Linked DNA regions of Homo sapiens: regions 1, 2 and 3 are each linked to region 4. Evidence: promoter capture Hi-C in 16 types of primary human blood cells and fetal thymus (Javierre and others, 2016). All regions are on one chromosome and are shown on one strand. Each heading gives the region's core, a stretch centred on a gene start or on the middle of the fragment in contact. The rest is flanking DNA. Distances are from core to core; before and after follow the strand shown.

Region 1 (6,094 bases), core at 1,420-3,919, 1.5 Mb after region 4:
CTGTAGTCCCAGTACTTTGGGAGGCCAAGGCTGGAGGATCCCTTGAACCCAGGAGATCGAGACCAGCCTAGCAACATAGTGAGACCCCATCCGTACAAAAAATGTAGAAATTACACAGGCATGGCGGTGTGTACCTATAGTTCCAGCTACCTGAGAGGTTGAGGTGGGAGGATGACCTGAGGTCAGAAGCTCGAGACCAGCCTGGCCAACATGGTGAAACTCCGTCTCTAAAAATACAAAAATTGCCCAGGCATGGTGGTGTGTGCCTGTAATCCCACCTACTTGGGAGGCTGAGGCAGGAGAATCGCTTGAACCCGGGGAGCAGAGGTTGCAGTGGGCTGAGATCACACCACTGCACTTTAGCCTGGGCAACAGAGCGAGACTCTGCCTAAAAAAAAAAAAAGAGAGAGAGACAGAAACTATTAGACTTAATTTAAAAAAAAAAAAAAGTCTAAACACAAAAACAGAATAAACAGATACCATATGCTAGGCAATTTATCAAAGTACATCTATGTTTTCAATTCTCTTACTAGTTTTGTAGGGAGGTTAGAAAAGAATACAAACAAGTATTAAGCACCTGCTTCATTCCTGCCCTTATGCTAGCCTTTTCTCACATTAAAAGGAAAAGGAATTCAAGAAACAAGCAAGTAAAACTGGCTATGTTATCGGTCTATGATGGTAAGCACCAAATGTGTTAATTTTTGAAAACCACCTCTTTGAAAGCTATAGGAACTTACGATATTATGCTGAATTTAAAATGAAATACTAGATTATGAGTCAGCAGTAACAAAAAAAAAGTTAGTAAATGTTCAACTTTAAAGACATTCTATTTAAAGTGTACAGGCTAAAAAGCCTGTACAGAAATAAAAAAGTTATTTGTGTTATGTAAAAAAAAAAAAAAAAAAAAAAAAAAAGGTACAATCCGAGTACTTTTTGGCACTCAGCCTGGCTTCTTGCACTTAGAAATCAAAGATAAGTTGGCCGGGCACGGTGGCTCACGCCTATAATCCCAGCACTTTGGGAGGCCGAGGCAGGCGGATCATGAGGTCAGGAGCTCGAGACCAACCTGACCAACGTGGTGAAACCCCGTCTCTACTAAAAACACAAAAATCAGCCGGGCGTGGTGGCGCGTGCCTGTAATCCCAGCTACTCAGGAGGCTAAGGCAGGAGAATCACCTGAACACTTGAACCTGGGAGGCAGAGGTTGCAGTGAGCTAAGATCGTACCACTGCACTGGGTGACAGAGCAAGACTCCATTTCAAAAAAAAAAAAAAAATTAAAGATAAAAGAAATCTGAAAACAATTTTTAATTATGTGAATAAAGGTAACTCTCCAGGTGGCAGAAATAAAAAAGAACTTTAAAGCTAAATAAGGCCGGACGCCATAGCTCACGTCTGTAATCCCAGCACTTTGGTAGGCTGAGTCAGGCAAATCACTTGAAGTCAGAAGTTTGAGACCAGCCTGGGCAACATGTGAAACCCCCGTCTCTACTAAAAATACAAAAATTAGCTGGGCTTGGTGGCACCCATCCGTAGTCCCAGCTACTCATAAGGCTAAGGAAGGTGAATCGCTCCAACCCAGGAGGCGGAGGTTGAAGTGAGCTGAGATTGCATCACTGCACTCTAGCCTGGGTAACAGGGCAAGACCCTGTCTCAAAAACAAACAAAAAGCTAAAGGAATCAGTATTAAATTGAAGCTGGGGCAGTTAACGAAGCTATCAGAAACAATACCTTAGAGGGTAGGACTGACTATGACAGCAACATAGACTAAAGATATGGAGAAAAGCTCTAACTGGGTTCCCTATATAAGGACAAGAGCTGATAAGGATCCATGTCATAACAGGAAGAGACTCTAGAAAACCATGTGCTGGACTACTAAGACTAGGGAAGCTGCACAGAAATTAGATGCTTGCTCCAGATGTGAGTAGATGACTCACTCTAGAAATCCAAGGGGATACTGAGGGAAGGTATGGGGCCCAAAATCTATTATCTAAAGGATGTAGAAATCCAAGCCAAGAAACAAACTTAGAGACTGGCCTGGAGCAATGAACCCCATTAGGCAAACTGTAACAGACTCTGCAGCTACCAATCCAAGTCTATTTTCTCCTTCTTCCCTACTAACAGAACTCTCACTTTAACCAGTTTATCAATGGGCCCAACTTTATGACCACATTTTGCAGGCTCAGTAACAATTAAGAGCCAGTAAAATTAAGCCTAAGTTGTTGAGTGGAGCCTCAAGGACAATTAGTTTAAGAGTACAACTCAGAGCTAGGCGCGATGGCTCACGCCTGTAATCCCAGCACTTTGGGAGGCCAAGGCGGGCAGATCACCTGAGGTCAGGAGTTTGAGACCAGCCTGGCCGACATGGCGAAACCCCATTTCTACAAAAAATACAAAAATTAGCCAGGCATAGTGGCACACACCTGTAATCCCAGCTACTCGGGAAGCTAAGGCAGGAGAACCCGGGAAGTAGAGGATCGCGGCCACTGCATTCCAGCCTGGGCAACAGAGCAAGACACTCTCTCAAAAAAAAAAAAAAAAAAAAGAGTACAACTCAGTTAGAGGACCACACTTGAAGCTTACCCTCTCCCCTTCTTTCTGCCTGGGACTTCTTTTGTAGTCACAATGACTGCAGTTCCAGCTGCCATGCTTTGACTATGGGATAACCCTGAACATGAAAACTATGTGCTAAGGCTGATACAGAAGGAAGATAGAAAAAGCATACTCCCTAGTGACTTAAGAGAGCTGTCATCGAAGCTTCAAAATGCCTTTTGCTTTTAAGTAAAAGAATAACTGGACGGGTGCAGTGGCTCACGCCTGTAATCCTAGCACTTTGGGAGGCCAAGGCGGGCGGATGACGAGGTCAGGAGATCGAAACACAGTGAAACCCCATCTCTACTAAAAATACAAAAAATTCGCCAGGAGTGGTGGCACATGCCTATAATCCCAGCTACTGGGGAGGCTGAGGCAGGAGAACTGCTTGAATCCGGGAGGTGCAGGTTGCAGTGAGCCGAGACTGCGCCACTGCACTCCAGCCAGGGTGACAGAGCAAGACTCAAGTCTAAAAAAAAAAAAAAAAAAAGGAATAAGCTCCTGACTTGTAGAAACCATTATAATCTGGTCGGCCAAACACAATTCTTAAAAGACAGAGAGCAAAGGCAAAAACCCCACAGTGACATCTTCACAACTCATGGTAGAGGAACAGGAATCCCAGGAAAGACAACTCCACCTGAAGATTAGCCTGCAGTCAAAAATTACACAATATATAAAGACATCTATCACCAGAGTTAACAAAGAATTCCAAAATCTGAGAATCTTTACAATAAGTATGTTTTAAATGTTCAAATAAAAAAACGAATATAATTCTTCAAACAATAAAGCAAGATACCCTGAAAAAAGAGACAAATTGAAAAATAAAATCACACAAAAATTCTAGAAATTTACTCAGAAAAAAATTAATTCACTGAATTAAAAATAAGCATAAATCTGAAGACAGAGTTAAAGATATTATCAGTAATGCAAAGATAAGACAGAAAGGCCGGGCACAGTGGCTCACACCTGTGATCCCAGCATTTTGGGAGGCAAAGGTGAGTGGATCATGAAGTCAGGAGATCAAGACCATCTCGGCTCACATGGAAAAACCCCGTCTCTGCTAAAAATACACAAAATTAGCCGGGCGTAGCGGCGGGCACCTGTATTCCCAGCTACTTAGGAGGCTGAGGCAGGAGAATGGCGTGAACCCGGGAGGCGGAGCTTGCAGTGAGCCGAGATCGCAACACTGCACTCCAGCCTGGGCAACAGAGGCTCCGTCTCAAAAAAAAAAAAAAAGATAAGATAGAAAATATGAAAGACAAATTAAAAGACATGAAAAACAGAATGAAAATCCCAAACATATACCTAACAGTTCTAGGAAAAGAAAAGTTAATGAGAAGGTTACAGTATTTGAAGAGACAGAGTAGAAAATAAAAAATGGAAGGACACTGAGTCCTCAGAATGAAAAAGCAGACCAAGTCTCAAACAGGATAAACAAACTCAAAAGATTGTTTATCAACCAACAGACACCAGAAGACAAACTAGAATAAAATCTTTAGTTACAGGAAAATAGCTATTATCAAAGGATTCAAACTAGCTTCCAAGAGAGCAAAATAATGAAATTCGTAGACACAAAAAGACTAATATAACTTTCTTACTTATTACTTACTAGCCTCAGACCCTGAGAAAAAAATACCAAAACCTTCAAAGTAAAAAAAATGAACCCACAAACAAGGAAAATAAAAGGCTAGATTGAACAAAAACATGAGTAATATTAAGCCTAATTATAAATAACTATTTTTTTAAAACACACGATTATTTAGAAGATTCAAAATAAGACGCACAGTGGCTCACGCCTGTAATACCAGCACTTTGGGAGGCCAAAGCAGGAACATTACCTGAGGTCAGGAGTTCAAGAACAGCCTGGCCAACATGGTGAAACCCCATCTCTATTAAAAATACAAAAATTAGCCGGACAAGGTGGCATGTGCCTGTAGTCCCAGCTACTCAAGAGGCTGAGGCATGAGAATCGCTGAACCCATGAGAATCACTTGAACATGAAAGGCGGAGGTTGCAGTGAGCCGAGATCACACTACTGCACTCCAGCCTGGGTGACAGTGAGACTCTATCACCAAAAAAAAAAAAGAAAAAAACAGATGGAGTAATTCCAGCTACTTAGAAGGCTAAGGTGAGAGGATCACATGAGCCCAAGAGTTCCAGACCAGCCTGGGCAACACAGTGAGACCCTATCTTAAAAAAAAAAAAAAAAGAAAACAGCAGAGTAATAAAGACAACAATAACATAGATTGTGCGAGGGAAAAAGAACCAAAGGAATCAAGGCGTCCCAAGGACCTTTGTTTTGTTCAAACGGAGTACAGATATTAAGACTCAGAAAAACATTAAGTATGCATGTTAAAACTTTAAGTGCAATCACTAAAATAAAAGAAATAGAGCATATGACCTCCAAATCAGCAGAGAATTAAAAAAAATAAAAGAATGAAGGGGTCAGGCGGGGTGGCTCACACCTGTAATCCCAGCACTTTGGGAGGCCAAGGCAGGAGGATTACCTGAGGTCAGGAGTTTGAGACCAGCCTGGCCAACATGGTAAAACCCCATTTCTACTAAAAATACAAAAATTAGCCAGGATTAGGGCCGGGCATGGGAGTTCACGCCTGTAATCCCAGGACTTTGGGACGCTGAGGCACGTGGATCACCTGAGGTCGGGAGTTCGAGACCAGCCTGACCAACATGGAGAAACCCCGTCTCTACTATACAAAATCAGCCAGGTGTGGTGGCGCATGCCTGTAATCCCAGCTACTTGGGAGGCTGAGGCAGGACAATCGCTTGAACCCGGGAAGCGGAAGTTGTGGTGAGCCAAGATTGCACCATTACACTCCAGCCTGGGAAAGAGCAAAACTCTATCTCAAAAAAAAAAAAATTAGCCAGGCACAGTGGCGGGCACCTGCAAGCCCAGCTACTCGGGAGGCTGAGGGAGGAGAATCACTTGAACCCAGGAGGCAGAGGCTGCAGTGAGCTGAGACTGCGCCACTGCACTCCAGCCTGGGCGACAGAGACCCTGTCTCAAAAAAAAAAAAAACAAATTAGCCAGGAGTGGTGGGGCGTGCCTGCAGTCTCAGCTACTCGGGAGGCTGAGGCAGGAGAATCGCTTGAACCTGGGAGGCGGAGGTTGCAGTAAGCGGAGATCACACCACTGCACTCCAGCCTGGGCCACAGAGTGAGACTCCATCTCAAAAAAAAAAAAGTAGAATATTTACAATCTAAAATGTCCTCTCTGGCCAGATACGGTCACTCACACCTGTAATCTCAGCACTTTGGGAGGCCAAGGCAGGAGGGACTACTAGAGCCCAGGAGTTCAAGACCAGCCTGAGCAACATTGTGAAACCCAGTTTCTACTAAAAATACAAAAACTAGCCAAGCATCGTGGCACATGCCTGTAATCCCAGCTATTCAGGAGGCTGAAACACAAGAATCACTGGAACCCAGGAGGCAGAGGTTGCAGTGAGCCGAGATCACACCACTGCACTCCAGCCTGGGCGATGGAG
Region 2 (5,843 bases), core at 1,831-4,330, 1.1 Mb after region 4:
GTGCTGAATACATGCCAAGTGAGTAAATGATAGAATTATCATTCAGAATAATCTAACTGGTCTCCATACCATCGTAAACTATGAGTTGAAAGGATGGAAGTAATCAGGGAAAAATGTAATTCTACATTTTGCTTGAGAAAATCATTTGCACAAATATAAAACGGGGAGATCTGGTTTGACTTCAGTAAAGATGAACACTCAGGTTTTAGTTGTTTACATGCTGAATTAGGCCAACAGCATTATGCATCTGCTTTTAAAATTCAACTCTAATTTGCATTAATAAACATAGAAACAGAGAGTGACTTGATCACAGAAAATGAGAAATTTAATGCAATCTCCATCAATGTATTATAAACACTCCTGGTACCACACTTAAGGAGGAATATTAACAAACTGAATTTTTTTTTAAGGGGAGCTACAAATACAGTAGGGTTTCTGGGAATCTTGCCCAAAAAGAAGAACACATTTAGTCTGAAAAGGAAAGGCTAAGGAAATATGTGATCACTGACTTCAAATATTAGACTTAAGAAATATATTTTAAAACTTTTTATGTATAATTTTTCATTTTGAAATAATTTTAGGCTTAACAAAAGGTGGCAAAAATAATACAGTTCTCATATACCTTTCACCTGGCTTTCTCAGATGTAACCTTAATAAATTGATAAAAACCAGGACATTAACACTGTTACAGTGTTATCTACAGATGTTATTCAGATTTTCCAGCTGTCCCATTAACATCCTTTTCCTGGTGCAGAATCACACATTTAGTTGTTTTATCTCATTTATGTCCACTCTGGGACAGTTCCTCAGTCTTTCTTGACCTTGACACTTTTGGAGAATATTGGACAGTTATATTTTAAAGTGTCCCACAGTTTGGGTTTGTCTAATATTTCCTCATGATTAAATTCAAACTATGCATGTTTGTTATAAATACTATGGAAGTGGTGTGCCCTTTTCAGTGTATTGTATCAGGAGGCACATGATATCCATATATCTCATCACAGATGATGTTAACTTTGATCATTTGGTTAAGTGTCTGCCAGGTTTCTCCACCGTAAAATTACTATTTTCTCTTTGTTAATTTCTTTGTAGGAAATTACTTCTTAATGGACAGAACTAGGAAATATATGTGTGTATATGTGTATATAGTTTGTTCAATATCTGGATTTTGTGCCTGTTTTTGTTCACTGCCATTTCTAGCACTTGTTTAGCCCTGTGGTCAGTAGATATTTGTAGCTAATAATATAGAATAGTGTAAAGTTAGACTAGATAACCTAAGGACTTTCCAGCCCCGCAACTCTGTTAATGTTTTGATTCTGGAAAAATAAGCTGGGGAACAAGACAAAAATAAACTCTGAACAGGATTCATAATAAGCAGAATGCAAAAGTCATAGGACTTTTGACTGCAAAAGTCATAGGAGCAGACATATGCAGTTTTGACATATGACTGCAAAAGTCATAGGAGCAGAAAGCTTTGATTATTATCAAAAACAATGAAGGTGTCAAAGGCCTGGAACAAAGTTTGCTGTGGGTAGGTAAGAAAGAGAAGCTTGATAATCGTTTTATCCATTGTACCTTAGCCGGATTGACTTGCAGAAGGTAAAGCCATGGTGAAAAAAAAAAAAAGAAAAATTATAAATAAGGATATCTCCTTTACAGGTATTCTGTCTTTAGTTTACTTTCCATTATTTCTTACTTTATCCAGGTAGACCAGATCCAAGTACATGTATTCCCACTGTAAAACCATATATGGCTTCATATTCTGCAAAGTCACACCCTAAAAATAACAGTACCTATGGGAAAAATAGGGTTGAGGTACAGCGTTCAAAATCTGTGGAACCTTATAAGCACTCATGAAAATAATAATACTTTAAAAAATCAATTAAATCTCCTCTAGCATTTTAACCTGGCATCATAGTTCTTAAAATCCTTTAAACCCTTGTTCTCATGCTTCCTTATTTGGGATATAGATTCTTTAGATCAGTTGAATAAAAATACATATGATTCAGATAAGAGCCCTTTTGAAAATGAAGGAAATGTCTTTGCAGCTTCTTGAGCTGCACTCAGAGATTGATCAGATAGCTTTACATAGTAGAAACCATAGAAGTTCTTGAAGCCACAAAACCAGCTACTACTTATATTAATAGAAGGCACGTCTAATAGATTTCTAGCTGGTTTTTTTTAAAAGATCTTCATATTTTACTAAGGTTTTGTCTTTAATTGCAAGAAAACTTATCTTGGATCATTAAAAAAAAATGAATGTGCCAGGGGAAAAAAAAATCAAGTCGAACTTACATACCTAACTCTGCATTATAAGAATATCATTCCGCTGTTTACTAATTGTATATAAGATCATTCAAATTAAAAAAGTCATAGAGGTAATTAATCTGTAATAATCTGAGTAACCGATTACACCTCAGTGACAGTGTGTTTAGCCAGAGTCGGTATTTCCTATATATGTATTTTTTATAGCCTTAGATGTTTCTGATAACATTGTATAAACATATCACTTACTGAATTTACAGACTCTGAATAAATGGTGGCTTCATGATACAGTTTTTAAAAGTATTTTTACCTTAGGATTCTTGGGTCTTGTATCAGCTCTTGTGGGAAGTTTGTGTATGTTTCCAGTCTTTTCCCTCTTTTTCCTGTGACTCATTCTACTTCTTCATCTACTTTAGTAGTCACTAGCACTGCCAGGTTTTGTGGAATCTTTGACAGAAATGTAGGATTCCTGCCTTTTACATACAGGAAATAATTTGATAGTATTGGAAGACAAAATGTAATCAACTGATAGACTGCCACATGTTGTCTGTAAATACTAGGCCTGTGTGTGCTATTCCCTAGCATTGTCTGGCTTTACTGAAAGCACTTCAAGCTTAAGAAATTGCTGACCCCTGTCTTACTAGGTTCTGAGCCAATCTTTTCACTTGCTAATCGACTTTCCCACTTTACTGAAAGGAGAGGCTTTCAAATTCTATACTTTATCAGTGTATTAGTTCTACAAAATGTTGCTTCAAGAAATAATGGAAATTCTTAAAGAGTTTGCATGTTGTTGCATGTTTCTCTCTCCCTCTGTTCAAATTTCCCTCTTGATGGAGATGTGCTTCTGGGTGACTGGTTGCCAGGAACTTTTATGTTCATAAGTACTTTTTGAATATTGTATTACCTATTTAAAAAGTTAAGAAAAATCTATATATATTTGGATGATGAGGAATGAGATAGATGGAAGAACTTGTGAGGAGTGAAAGAGCTTTAGGAAGAGAAACTATTGAAGCTTATCTAAATTACAAAATAAGTCAAATGCTCCTATATAAAAAACAGACATTCTTATTGTTAAAAAACTTTTTGCTGTTAAATATCATCTAAATATTGGTTTGATGTACAAATGTAGAAAAATATCTTGGGCATAGATTTTTTTTCCCTTGTCACTTTGAAAAGAAATTTACTTATTATTTTTCTGTAGGTTTTTCAAAGAATTTTTATATTAGACAATCACATCAGCTTTCCAAAAGAGAGAAAACACTGATTAGGAACCCTCACTATCCAGGTGGGGAAGTGGGGATTTAAAATAATATAATGTTCATATGCAGGGTTGCACTATAACATAAGCCTCCTGACTCTTAACTTAAATATGTATTGGATGTGTTAAGATGTTTTTCTTTTATTTAATGTGAAAAAAGCTTAATAATTGACTGTTGGCGCCTGGGCATGTATATTTTGGTCCCCTGCACTGGGAATCAATTCTAAACTCAAGTTCAAAATTGGCTTCTGGAATTAGGGTGTTCAGCCTATAAATAGAGAGATATCTGTACTTCTTTAAGCCACACAAGTCTTTTCTTGGGTTTAGTTAGTAATTACTACTTTGGGAAATTATTTCTCCTTTAGAGTTGTTATTTTGATTCATATTTTAGTTCACGTGGATGTCTACAAAATAAGGAGTAAATTCTTGAAGAAAACCTGCTAATAGTTGTTTTATAGAAACTGAGCTTTGTAGATTAATTAGACTATCTAAATTGCAGCTTTTAGCTACATAATAAAAGTTTACTTGCATAGTCATTTTGTGTGTGTGTGTGTGTTTTTTTCATTTCTTAAGTGTGGTAGTTTTCTTTTTAAAAAATTGCTAAGATAAGGTCTTGAATGTTGTTCTGGTATTTAAGTACTGAGTCCTAGGATTCTACTTTTGTGTTTGTGAGAATTGCCGGGAGAGTAAGAGGCCAGCAGTGTGAGTGTCCACCATGTTCTCTACCTACGTACAAAGAAGCCTTAGTATGCTCTGACTCATTGATGAGAGCAAATTGGAGACTGTCACTGCTTTTTGCTTCTGTTGCTTACCATTGGCCCCATTGCCCCTTTACTGATGCTACTTGTTTTGATTGGTTGCTTTTGCAATGTTTGTGCTGTTGTTGTTACGGAAGAAAAGAGAAATAGGGGAGCCTAGTGGGTGGGCCGGCGGCATTCAAGAAGACTTAGAGAAAGGCAGAAGCTGCAGTGTTTGTCTCTTCCTCCACTGATTTTAACATGGCCACAGGAGTCATTAAACATAGCCTCTGTAGCATAAGGAAGGCAGAATTCTCTAGCTCGTTTGCGTTTTGTTGCTTAGTGGGAAGAGCTGAGAAAAAAAACAGAACTGGAAAACATCGCTTACTCCTAAAATGCAAGGGTAACCTTTTCAGACTTCTGTTGATTTTTGATGGGTTAAGAAATACAGTATGTACATATTCCTTTTAACTCTCCCCCACTAATATGGTCTGTTGGCATTTTCCTATTATTTGACTAGCGTCTTAGGAATTATTACTACAAAGATTCAGTGACAAATAACTGGCCAGAAGAAGATGTGGCATGTAATTTCAGATGACAGTGGGATGATGTTGGTACTTTCAGGACCTGTGGGTAGTAGGGAAAAGACAGTGTAACAGTTAATAAATGTTTGTATGGATTGCCTTAGTTTACGACTGAACAATCACATGCTTTTATTATTGGCCCTACCTCATAGAATCAAAGCCTTTTACATATGCCAACATTTTACAATATGTTCATTACCAAATGTTGCATGCCTGGTTGGTATATACTTTTCTAGATTTTGTAGGCTATGTAAAAATTTGATCCTGGTTCTCAAATATGGATAAAGAAGATACATGACTGTATTTTGGAATCAGGAAGATGAATACAGTTTCCAGCAATAAATCTATTACTGTCTTTTGAAAAAAAATCTTATTGTATGGTCCTTCAAGATTCAAAGTTTCTCTTAAAAGTAATAAACTGTAATATAGATAAAGCTGCTTATGCAGCAGCTAATTTATGGACCTCTTCAGTGCATTTTAAGATTTCCCTATTATATTTTTGCCCATCTAAATATGTTACTCTTTCCCTAATTTTCCCATAATTTATCTAGAAGAAACTTGAGGTGAATCTAACTTTTTAAAAAAACCTTTAGGCCAAAAAAGTTGAATAGTAATCAATTCATAGTTTAATGAAGGACATGTGTAGTTTGAGTTTCTGGATAACCTCTCTTCCTTTGAAAGTGTTTCTTAATTAAAACCAGATGAGAGCAGCAAAGAAGGTATTCAGAACACTAAGTAAAATTAATGTGCTTCATGGAATTTGCAGAATTCATCAATACATGTAACAATGATTTATAATTGCATTTGGTCCTAACACTTATCAGTGTAGATCTAACAGAGGGACAGTAAGTAAGATAGCTAGTATGAAACACTAAGGTGAAAGGGTTAATTGGCCTTGCACAGTTCAATTTGCCACTCTAGTGGCACTTTCTATTGTCTGTGTAAACAGAGTTGCTAAGTACTTTCCCGCTAAGCTGCCACCCTTTTATTTATACAGTT
Region 3 (5,967 bases), core at 2,213-4,712, 1.1 Mb after region 4:
GTAATTGCATAGGTCACAGGCCCGTGAAGCTAACCCAGAATGGCTATTTCAGAGGATATCAGGTACTAAGCTATGCAAACTAAGAAAGATAATTTCAAATATTCAGAAAACACTTCCTTTTTTTGGAATGTAAATCTGAAGAAAATGAATTATCAATTCGATTAATAAACCCAATTCAACAAAAAGCCAGTTTCCTAGCATCTTACTATAGCGAAGGAATACTGACTATCCAGGCAGTTTCTCCAGCACTTGGGCCAAGAATCAGGACTCAGTGAGGGCCTCCTAGGTTTGGCTACATTTTTTTGAAATGAGGAGAAAAAAATATACAGAGAACTACAACAAAGACTAACCCCCTCCCAATGCATATTTGCTCCTCCCTTACAGAAATAGAGATACTGATTCTTAGCTGGACATAAGGCTACTGAAAAGAAAGACTACAGCCTCCACAGCAGACTAAGTTTTGTTTTTTTATAGAGACAGAGTCTGGCCACGTTGCCCAGGCTGGTCTTGAACTCCTAGGCTCAAACAATCCTCCCTCTTTGGCCTCCCAAACTGCTGGGATTACAGGTATGAGCTATCATGCCTGGACTTGATAAAATTTTACAATGAGAAGTGAGTGGAAATGTTTCGTACAATTTACAGAACGTATCCTTAAATAGAGTCTATGTGTGGCTTTCCCACCTCTTCCTCCTTCCTGCTGCTTGAAATAAGTATATATATAATAGAGACCCATTGTGGATCATTCAGAAAAGGACAACACACTTTAGAAATCATAGCAACAAATTAGAGGAAGCCTCATTACCTGGACAAATCTCCTGAGTAAAAGATCCCTGAGGCCTCCCCAGAAGCAGAAGCCACCATGCTTCCTGTACAGACTGCTGAACTATGAGTGTATTAGTCCATTTTCACACTGCTAATAAAGACATCCCTGAGACTGGGTAATTTATACAGTTAAAAGGTTTAATGGACTCACAGTTCCACATGGCTGGGGAGGCCTCACAATCATGGCAGAAGGCAAGGAGGAGCAAGTCATGTCTTACATGGATGGCAGCAGACAAAGAGAGCTTGTGCAGGGGAACTCCTCTTTATAAAACCGTCAGATCTCATGAGATTTATTCACTGTCACGAGAACAGCATGGGAAAGACTTGCCCCCATGATTTAATTACCTCCCACTGGGTCCCTCCCACAACATGAGGGAATTCAAGACGAGACTTGGGTGGGGACATAGCCAAACCATATCAGTGAGCCAACTAAACCTCTTTTCTTTATAAATTACCCAGTCTCAGGTGTTTTTGTGTTTTTTTGTTGGTTTGTTTGTCTGTTTGTTTGTTTTTGAGACGGAGTCTCACTTCATTGCCCAGGCTGGAGTGCAGTGGCAGAACCTCGGCTCACTGCAACCTCCGCCTCCCGGGTTCAAGCAATTCTCCTGTCTCAGCCTCCCCAGTAGCTGGGAACTACAGGCACATGCCACCATGCCTGGCTAATTTTTTTGTATTTTTAGTAGAGGTGGGGTTTCACCATATTGGTCAGGCTGGTCTCGAGCTCCTGACCTCAAATGATCCACCCACCTCAGCCTCCCAAAGTGCTAGGATTACAGACATGAGCCACCACACCCTGCCTTCAGGTATTTTTTTAAATAGCAATGCGGAAACAGACTAAAATGGAAAATTGGTACCAAGGAATGGGGCATTGCTATAAAGATATCTGAAAATGTGGAAGTGACTTTGGAACTTGGTAACAAGCAGACATTGGAATCTAAATCTCCTACCTCCAGAATCTTGAGTAATAAATAAGTAAATTAATTTCTCTCTAATCTGTTTCTTATACACAGCAAAACATATAATCTAATGAATATAAGAATAATACTCAAGAAGCTCACGAACTTGAGAAAATTTTAGAGCAGCAAAAAGTCATTTATTAATTCACTCAACAAATTTGAAACTACTCAGTGTCAGGCACTGTTTTAGACATTGAGGATGCAGCTGTAAACAAGATACATAAAGTCTGCTTTCATGAGCTTACCTTCTAGAAGGGGGAGGCATCCAATCCACAAATAAATATGAAATATAGTGGGAGGTGGTAATATGACCACCAAGTAGGATGAGATCATTTAAGGAGAGTCAGGAAATGCTTTTCTAATAATATTATATTTGGGCAGTGACGTGAGGGAACTAGTAAAATTGAAACTACTTTGTTATCTGGGAGAAGAACATTCCAGACAGACATACCAACAAATATTAAGTGGGAAGTGGGAGCAGGATTGACAGTTTTGAAGGACAACGATGCCACTCTGGCTGGGGCTGAGGGAGCAAGGGGAAGAGTGTAGGAGACCAGAGGGCTTAGATGGTAAGGACCTGGGATTTTCCTCTGCATGAATGATTAGAGGGTTTGGGGAAGAGGAATGAAGCAATCTGAGTTATATTTTAGAAGCATTTCTGCAGAGATTAGGTGAGAGGAGGCAAGGGTGGAACCAGAAAGACCAGATGAGAGTTGATGGTGGCATGGATTAGGGTGATGGTTGTGGAGAAATGGTCAGATTCTGGGAAAATTTTGAAGTTAGAGAAGACATGATTTGCTGCTGAATTGAATGGGGGGAAAAGAGAATAGGACTCAGGAATGACTCTAAGATTTGGCCTGATCCATACTGTCTTGATAAATATCCCTCTATGAATTCCAGGGTGCGGATACAGATCTGAGAAAAGGAAAGGCTTTGTACTTCTCATGACACTTGCTGTAGGTTTAACTGCATTCACTATGACCATGTATGTGCTAAACATACATGTATTATTTCATTTAATTTTTACAGCATTCCTATTAGTGGCTGTTATCATCCTCACTTTTATAGATGAGGACGCTGAGGTTTAAACAGGTTGTGTAACTTGCCCAAGGTCATACACCTAGTGAGTGGAAAAGCCAGTATTCAAACTCATATCTGCCTGATACCAAGTCACAGCTTCCAAACCACTCTTCTGTACAGCCTATGATGTTTTTACTCTTCCATCAGTTAGAGCAGGAGCAGACAGACGAAGCCCCACAGGCCAAATCTGGCTCCATCCCTGTTTCTATAGAGCCTGTGAACTAAGAAAAAAAAATTTTTGGAAAAAAAATCAAAACAACATTTTTATAACAGTGGAAATTGATATAAAATTCAAACTTCAGTGTTCACAAATAAAGCTTCGTTGGAACACAGTCATACCTCTTCATTTACTTATTATCTATGGCTGTGTTTGGGCTACCATGGCAGAGTAGATTAGTTTCAACAGAGACTACGTGGTCCACAAAATCTAAAATAGTTAATATCTAGCCCTTTACAGAAAACGTTTGCCAACCCTGGTTTAGAGAATGAACTCTGTTCTAACGTTCATGAAATACCACGTTTGTGAAACATTTCTACGGTAGTTAATATCTCTAAAGTCAGAGAAGGTAATGCTCTGTGAGAGAGAGTTTATTTAGCCAGTTAAGGATTAATTACTCTTGCAGTTTTGTTCTACTGTGAAAGTGCAATACACAATGGGCAGGAACCCAGTGTCAGAGTAACGGCAAATAACCTTTTACCTCTCTCTCTCTCTCTCAAATAGAGACCATTCATATAAGCTATCTATCTCAGAAAATTGTGAGTTCTTGATATTTTGAAATTATTAAAGGATTTGCCTTTAGGAGCTCTTTTTGAAAATGTTCAATTCTCAAATTTCTAGCTTTGAAACTATATCATGCACTGATCTACAAAGGCTAATTGCAATCAAGCTTACTTCTACTGAATGCTGATCGATGGTGAGTAACCACGATAACACTGATCAAGGGACAGCGTTCTATAGTTGAATGAGTCACTCCATTTCTACCAGAAAATAATTACATAAGGTCTAGAAACGTGTCTCTCCCAGTAGAAAGCTTTGTAATGATCTAGTGCGGAGGGAAGTAAAAGTACAAAACAAGATAAGAGCCACATATGAGGGTGTTTAATCTCTGTGCCAAGTACAGAAAGGAACTCTGCTCTATGGTTTTTATCTGTGAATCTAGAAGCAGCTGAGGCGGTGAACCTCAGTGTATGTGTAAATTTCTATCGTTGTTGGCTTTCTCTTCCAATAAAAGCCTTATCTGAATTGAGCTGAAACAGCTTATTTTCATCCATCCCATTTGGGTCCAGTTCCAGAAAGAGTTGAGAAATCTCATCCTTGGAGTAGACTTGAAAAGAGACCCACCTGGATTGTATTTATATGTGCATGGTAATCCCACCTAGACTCCTCTGAGAGCTGGCAGGTTCTCCCCTTCCTTCTGACCATGCCAAGTGACCTCTTACCACACTCAACTATGATAGCTCATATCTAACTTTTCTGTACTGTATTATTATGTATCTACTACATCTGCAACAGATACTTTCTCTGGGACCAAACTTTTGCTTTAAAATGATAGGACCAGTCTCAGAGAGTCACCTATTGTCTGACTCTATTTCCATTGCATTCTTTTTTTAAAAAACACCTTTATTGAGATATAGTTCACGTGCCATGTAATTCACCCATTTAAAGTGTACAATTCAATGGCTTTTAGTATATTCACAGAGGTGCAACCATCACCACAATCAATCTTAGGACATTTTTATTAAGCCCTCCCTTCTAGATCACTTAGCCATCACCAAAAATTCCCCCCATCCCACCCAGCCCATGGCAACTACTAATCTCCTTTCTGTCTCTACAGATTTGTCTATTCTGGACATTTCAAAAAGAAATGGAGTCATCCGTTGTGTGATCCTTTGTGCTTGGCTTCTTTCACGTGGCATATTTTCAAGGTTCATCCATGTTGTGCCATGTGTCAGTACTGTCTTTTAATTGCCAAATGATATTTCATTGAATGATATACTCCATGACACTCTTGAGATGACATTATAGACTTAGAGAACAGATGTTAGGAGTGGTGGTTTGGGGAAGAGTTGACATGACTGGCTATGAAGGAATAAAGAATAACATGAAGGATCGTTGTGATAGAACCATTATGTAACTTAACCGTGGTAAAATTGCATAGAACTAAACACACCTACTTATGCATACACACACACACACACACACACCACACATACACAAGTGAATGTATGCAAATCTGGTAACAACTGAATAAAGTCAATAGTTTGCAGCAGTATAAGTTTTCTGGTTAGGATATTGTACTCTAGTTATGCAAGCTGTTACCATGAAAAGAAACTGAGTAAAAGGTATATGAGATTTCTTTGTATTACTTCCTACAACTGCAGGTGATTTCATAATTTTGTCAAAATAAAAAGTTAAAAAAATAATACTGGGACCTGGACAATAGTTCAAGGATGGCAGAGTAAGAACCTCTGAAAATTTATTTCTCCATAAAAGCAACAAGAACACTGGCAAAAAAAAAAAAACAACTGTCAAATTCAACTTTTCATAACTCTGAAAATTAACCAAAGGCTTGCAAAAATTTGAGTGCTTAGGCAAGAAAAATGGCTGAATCCTGGTAAGAACAGGAGGCTTGATGGCATTTTAACCTACTCTGTCCTCATGCTCCTCTCCCCAGCTCTAGAGTAGCCTTGAAAACAAAGAGAACTGCAATCATGGTGAAAGCTAACAATCTAGAAGCCACTGGAGGGAACAGAATGTTGAAGCCCCATTCCTAGATAATGGTCATTACGTGACCTGTCTGGCAGGTTCCTGGAAAATCTCACTCATAAGACTTGTCTTTATTCGACCCGACTCAGGGAGCACTCACCATGAACAGCATTTTACCCAAAGGTATTTGTCAAAAACAATTAGTGGCAATTATTTAACATTACAGCTGCACGAGGCTTGTGATGATAACAGCTAGGACAAACAACAAGCTGACCAAAAACTTAAAAGGAAATGCGGGAGAATAAGATATTAATAATAAGCTTTGAAAAGCTCTGATATATTCCTGGGAAACTAGAAGGCTACACATATGCACAGGGCTGTGTGCATGCGCATGCCCAGGAA
Region 4 (6,184 bases), core at 596-3,095:
CTGCATCAGGAACCAAATCTGTTCCCACCTTGATCTTGGACTTCCCAGCCTCCAGAACTGTGAGAAAATGTTGTTGAAGCCACCCAGTCCACGGTGTTTTGCAATAGCAGCCTGAGCTCAGACACAGAGCCAGGAAGTAACCGAGAGCCAAGACTCAAAATCTGCATCTATTCATACCCAAGCCCTTCACCACAGAAATACTCCGTTTATCATTTTTAATGGCTGCCTAACAGTTTGTTGGATTGAATTTTCATGATTTACGTAAGTATTTCTTAACTGATTTGGGTTACAGCCAGTTTCCATTTTGTAAGAGACTAGTGCTTAAAGCATCTTTGCATATATCTCTTTGTTCTTCTTTTGAACTATTTCCTTCGAATAGATTCCCAGGAGGGGTGTCTGATAAGGTACACAGCTCCTGTTACCTACTGGTGGCTGGCCAAATTTTATTGTTGCTGGAGAACTTCAGATCCCAGGGCAATTCATTAGGCTGCTTCTGACAGCAGCAATTACAGCCATGAAGTAGTTACCGCTAAAACCACCATCCTTTTTCAAGGGGTTATAGAGAGCTCGTCGGTAACTGTGACCTGTTTCTATCACCTGTGGTTCTCAGCAATACAATGCTTGGCACACAGTAGGCTCACAGCAAATGTCATCAGACTGACTAGAGACACCAGTGATTAGAAAGGCCATAGCTGGAAGTCAAGTTGGATGAGCTAACATTCCACAACGCCAACGCTTTTATTTAGTTACGTATTCTTTCAATATTGCATTTCGAAAACTTCAGGGGCTAAAAAGAGCTCAGAATGAGTTGGTACATTTTCATCAGTTGGGTATCTCTGAATGTCTTCAATGAACACATATAAAATTGGATTCAGAGTGGGTCAGTCTGGCAACCGCCCAGGAAGCCAATCCCCTGGGGCACTAAGTTACCCTGAAATAGAACTGAAATACAGGGGTAGCTGGCACAGGTCTCCCGAGGTGACTCCTTCCTGCTTGGTGAAATGTGCAGGTACCCAGATCCAAGAGAGGATCCAAAAGTATTTAGCAGAAACACACACACACACACACACAGAGAGAGAGAGAGACACACACACACAGGCTCGCCCTGGTCTCTGTCTCAGTCATTAACAATGGCTGTCACCTTAAAGAAGGAACAAATGATCAACCCAGTCTCCCTGGCTCTTAGACACATTTATGGGAAGTCAGCAGGGCAGGAAACACTCACAGGAACCCCAAGTCTGAACTGCCTGCTTCTCAGATGCTGGAAGGAAGCCCGCGGAACTACGAAGAGGGCTGCAATGCAAAATACTAGGGGCCTTCGCAGGGGCGCGCGGGCCGGGCTGCTACAGCCCAGGCCCCGGGCCTTCGCCTGGAGTCCCCGATAGGGGTCAGAGGCCCCCGAGCCCCACTTATGCCCCCACTCCCCGAGCCAAGAAAAAAAAAATTATGCGCACATTTAGGGGGATCATTTGTTCATTTCCTCGGATTCTCACAGGGGTCAGTCCCCACCCTGCCGCCACCAAGTTTACAATCCACTGTCCCAGATCCTCGGGCTGGGGGGGGGGAGGGGCGCGCCGAGGAGGGCTTAGTAGGAGGGCAGCGCCCGGCCTGGACCGGCCCTAGGCTCCCGGGTGCAGCCGGTGAAATGAAGCCGAAAGCCGTAGGCGGCGGCGGGGCCTGCGGGACCCGCGTCCTACCTGCCTCCCCCAGTCCCGGCCCGGTGCCGGGCCCGCCGCCGCCCGCTTGGCCCCGCACCGCCCGCCGAGGCGCAGTTCCGAGGGTCAGGCCCCGGAGCAACCAGAGGAGCCGCGCCATGACGCCCGCTCCGGCGCCGCTCCGCCCTCTGCCCTCTGCCCGTCTCTGCCCCTGCTCCCATCCCACCCCTCCCCCATTCTCTCCCGTCCGCCTGCGCTAGTCGGCCTCCCTCCCCACGCTCCGCCCACACCGCCAGTCCCCTCGTCTCCCTCCCCCTCTTCTCCCTCCCCTGCCCCTCCCTCCTTCCCTCCTTCCCACCTGCTCCTCCCACTATGTGCCCTGGGCCCTCCCAGGTCCCCGCCCCTCTTTCCTCCCACTCTGCCTCTCTCTCCCCCTCCCTCTTCCTCTCCTTTTCCCCTTGCCTTTCCTCCCCCTTCCTCTCCCCCTTCCTCTCTCCCTTCCCTTCCATGAGACCCTCCCCAACCCATCTCTGCATCTCCCAGCTCCTCCCACTCCTGCTCCTCCCTCGCCCTGCCCCCCTCCACCTATCCCAACTCCACTCATCCGCAGCCCAAACACTGATCTGTTTTAGTTTGCATTTTCTAGAGTCGTCCATAAATGGAATCATCCCATATGTACTTGATTTTGTCTGGCTTCTTTCACTCAACATAGTTACTTTGACATGCCTGCGTGTTTTTGCATGGAACAATCATTCATTGCTTCCTGAGCAGTATTCCATTTATGGATATACCACCGTGTGTTTAGTCAGCACTTGATTTAGCCTGCTTTCAATTTTTCCTGATTAGAACTACAGCTGCTAGGAACATCCCTGTGCAAATCTTTGTACAGACATATACGGTTTTTCCTCTCTGGGGTAAATACCTGGAAGTGGAATGCCCAGGTCGTAAGGTAGGTGTAACCATTTAAGAAACTACTATACTGTTTTCCCAAGTGGTTTTTTTCTTTACCTTCCCACTAGCAGTCTATGCGAGTTCCAGTTGTTCTTCATCCTTGCCAACACTTGAAAGTCCAGAGATTTTAACTGTAGATGTTCCGGTTCTGTGTAGTGGTAGCTCATTGTGGCTTTATTATGCATTCTCTAATCGTTAATGATGTTAAGCATCTTTTCATGTGCGTATTTGCAGCGAGTGTATTTTCCTTGGTGAAGTGTCCGTTCAGATCTTTTGCCCATTTAATGTTGAGTTGTTTCATTATTGAGCTTAGAACACTTTATATATTTTGGATGCAAATCTTTTATCAAACATATGCTTTACAAAGATTTTTTTTCCCAGTCTCTTGTTTGTCTTTTCTGTCTCCTAATATTGTCTTGGGAAGAGCAGTTTTTAATTTTGATGAAGCCCAATTTATCAATTTGTTAATGGATTGTTCTTTTTTTGGTATCATATTTAAGAAATCTTTGCCTAATCCAAGATCACAAAGATTCTCTCCTATGTTTTGTTCTAAAATTTTTATAGTTCTAGGTTTTACATTTAGGTCTCTGACCGATTTAGAATTTTTATATATGGCCAAAATTTTTGTTTTGTTTTGTTTATCTGTTTTGTTTTTTGCATATCTATATCCAGTTGTTCCAGCACCATTTTTATTGATTGATTGATTGATTGATTGAGACAGAGTCTCTGTCGGCCAGGCTGGAGTGCAGTGGCACGATCTTGGCTCACTGCAACTTCCATCTTCCAGGCTCAAGCAATTCTTCTGCCTCAGCCTCCTGAGTAGCTGGGATTACAGGCGTGTGCCACCACGTCTGGCTAATTTTTGTATTTTTAGTAGAGACGGGGTTTCACCATGTTGGCCAGTCTGGTCTTGAACTCCTGATCTCAGGTAATCTGCCTGCCTCGGCCTCCCAAAGTGCTGGGATTACAGGCGTGAGCCACCAGGCCTGGCTCCTAGCACCAATTTTTAAAAGACTACTCTTTCTCCACTGAACTGTTTTTGAATCTGTCAAAAATCAGTTTCCTATCAATGTGTTGTGTCTATTTCTGGACTTCCTATTTTGTCCCATTAATTAATTTGTCTATTTTTACATCAATATTACAATATCCTGATGACTGGACTTGCAACCAGCTAGCATTGGTACTGTACCTCTGTTCTTTTTTAAGGTTGTTTGGGCTATTTTAGGTCTTTTGTATTTCAACATAAATTTTAGATTCAGTCTGTCAATTTCTACACATGATCTTACTTAAGTTTTGATTGGGATTGCATTGATTCTATCCATAAGTTTGGGGGAAATTAATATCATAACAATATTGAATCTTTTGACCCATGAATAAAGATATGCCTATCTATTTATTTAGGTCTTCCTTAACACCTACTAGTAGTGTTTTGTAGTTTTCACTGTATAGGTTTTGCACATCTTTTGATAGATTCATCCTAAAGCATTTCATATTTTTGATGCTGTGGTATTGTTTTATCAATTTCAATTTCTGATTGCTAGTATGTAGATTTTGTATATTGATCTTGTATTCTGTAATCTTTCTAAACTCATTTCTTAGTTCTAGTAACATTTTATGGATTTTATCAGATTTTCTACATAGAAAAATCATGTCATCTGTGTAGAAAGAGTTTTACTCTTTCTTTTTAATACAGATGTCTTTGATTTCTTTTTCTTGCCTTATTGCACTGGTTAGAGCCTGCGCAGTGTTGAATAGAAATGTTGAGAGTGAACATCCTTGTCTTGTTCCTGATCTTAGAGGAAAAGTATTCAGCCTTTTACCATTAAGTATGATATTAGCTATAAGTTTTTCATAAATTTTCTATCAGATTAAGGAAATTTCTATTTGTAGTCTACTGAGAGTTTTTATCAGGAAGGGATGTTGGATTTTTGTCAAATGCTTTTCTGCAGCTACTGATATAATCATACCTTTTTCCTATTTTCTTTTTGTAGTTTGTTACTTGATTTTCAAACGTTAAACCAACTTAGTATTTCTTCAATAAAGCCTGCTTTGTCAGTTTTATTATTTGTTTCATGTATTGTTGGATTATGTTCTATGTATCATGGATTACATTTTTTTAGAATTTTTGTGTCTGTGTTGATGAAGGATGTTGGACTGAAAGCTTCCTCTCTTATAGTATCTGTCTGGTTTTGTATCTGAGTAATAAGTAAACAAATTCAAATCCAGAGAGGATAAGTACCTTGTCTATGATCACACTGCTAGTTAGTTGAAGAGTTTGTAAAGTTCCCCTAAAGTTTAGAATTTAGAAAATATCAAGGAATACCGGTTTAACTCACCCACCTTCACCCCCAATCCCAAGCAAAGTTAATAAATTAACTTAACATTGTGACATTGTGGGAAAAAAATCATGGAGTCTGGTGTAAAACACATTCAAGTCAGAATATCTTAAATTTAAAAGACGCATGAGCTTGATCAAGTATTCAACCTGTGACAGATCAGTTTTCTTATCCCCAAAATGGGGTTATTGTAAGGATTAGATACAACATACGTTAAAACACCTAGCAAACCCTTTGGTACATACTTGGTTTTAATAAACGTTAGTTGTTATTGAAGATTTAATGAGGACAACGGTAATTGGTAAACAGAGCTGATAACCAATCTATCCTTGCATTTCTACATATCCTCACACTCCCAGAAAGACATTCTAAGCACAGAGGAAGTCCCTCCCTCCCTACCACCATTCTCCTTTACACCTGCTAGGAGGACCTTTACCTCATCTGTGATCAAGCCCTTACTGGTCTTAAAATGTCCCCTCTTCTCACCACCATTTATCTGAATCCAACTTAACCATCAAGGCCATGCATTAACCTCACATTCTTGGACACATGGTCTTAGCCTGAACAAAACTCTACTTTATGTTTTCCCTTTTACTTTGTACACTGAGTGGTAGAGACTATCATTTGCCTGGCCGATATCCACTCTCTCTACTTACAAACAGATCTTTGATTTTATTAAGAGTAGCAATATGCCTAGCTAAAATGTTACATCTGTCAGCTCCCTTGTAGTTGGTGGCAATCATATGATGCTGTTATGGGCAATGATAGGAGCAGACATCACTGGGAGCTACCAGGAAAACTAGTTAAAGAGGAGCTGGCTCAGCACTGGACTTTTGCTCTGTCTTTTGTTTCTGCTTGGAAATTAGTCATGATGGCTGGAGCACTGGCAATCTTCTGGTATACATGAAGATGAGACCCACATCTTGATTTTAAAGAAGTAGAAGACATGAAGGAGCCCAGGATTCTGAAGACAGTGTGGAGTCAATATGCTAGTCTTGGATTGCCTGCCTTCAGATTTCCAATTACATGAGAGACCAATAAATCTATATTTTGTTTAAATCACTGTTACTGGGATTTTCTGTTTCATGAAGTTGACACAGTGTATATCTGATGTCCTGAATTTGATTGTGAGAATCTTCAGGAAAGGCAAAATTCTATAACTTTGACTCTTTGTATATCCAACACACTTCTCTGCAAACTATAAATTTGATAATAAAATCCCTAAAAGATAGGATAGAATGA

What was found. Contacts are between HindIII fragments. The CHiCAGO score rates a contact against its expected background, and 5 or more counts as called.
Region 1: a contact is called between a fragment that was not itself captured here and the fragment with the promoter of MSRB2 in region 4, in 1 of 17 cell types (naive B cells). The highest score is 7.7, in naive B cells.
Region 2: a fragment that was not itself captured here is called in contact with the fragment with the promoter of MSRB2 in region 4 in 1 of 17 cell types (total CD8 T cells); the score reaches 5.4 in total CD8 T cells.
Region 3: a contact is called between a fragment that was not itself captured here and the fragment with the promoter of MSRB2 in region 4, in 3 of 17 cell types (total CD4 T cells, naive CD4 T cells and fetal thymus). The highest score is 8.2, in total CD4 T cells.

Annotation. Positions count from the first base shown.
Region 1 is chr10:21,546,110-21,552,203 of GRCh38, reverse strand. All of the region lies in intron 3 of MLLT10 (MLLT10 histone lysine methyltransferase DOT1L cofactor), which reads right to left. Among named protein-coding and RNA genes, the nearest start is that of MLLT10, 15 kb to the right of the region's middle. RefSeq lists a silencer at 947-1,131. The HindIII fragment of the contact is 179 bases long and covers 2,580-2,758 here.
Region 2 is chr10:21,975,496-21,981,338 of GRCh38, reverse strand. The region is part of intron 1 of DNAJC1 (DnaJ heat shock protein family (Hsp40) member C1); the gene reads left to right. Among named protein-coding and RNA genes, the nearest start is that of DNAJC1, 25 kb to the left of the region's middle. The HindIII fragment of the contact is 399 bases long and covers 2,881-3,279 here.
Region 3 is chr10:22,027,566-22,033,532 of GRCh38, reverse strand. No RefSeq gene overlaps it. Among named protein-coding and RNA genes, the nearest start is that of DNAJC1, 27 kb to the right of the region's middle. The HindIII fragment of the contact is 570 bases long and covers 3,178-3,747 here.
Region 4 is chr10:23,091,240-23,097,423 of GRCh38, reverse strand. MSRB2 (methionine sulfoxide reductase B2) reads right to left here and starts at 1,845. Exons shown (of 5, transcript NM_012228.4): 1 at 1,698-1,845. The coding sequence starts at 1,815. LOC107984215 (a long non-coding RNA gene) reads left to right here and starts at 2,145. Exons shown (of 3, transcript XR_001747394.2): 1 at 2,145-2,604. RefSeq lists a silencer at 1,568-2,037. The HindIII fragment of the contact is 9,169 bases long and covers 1-4,769 here.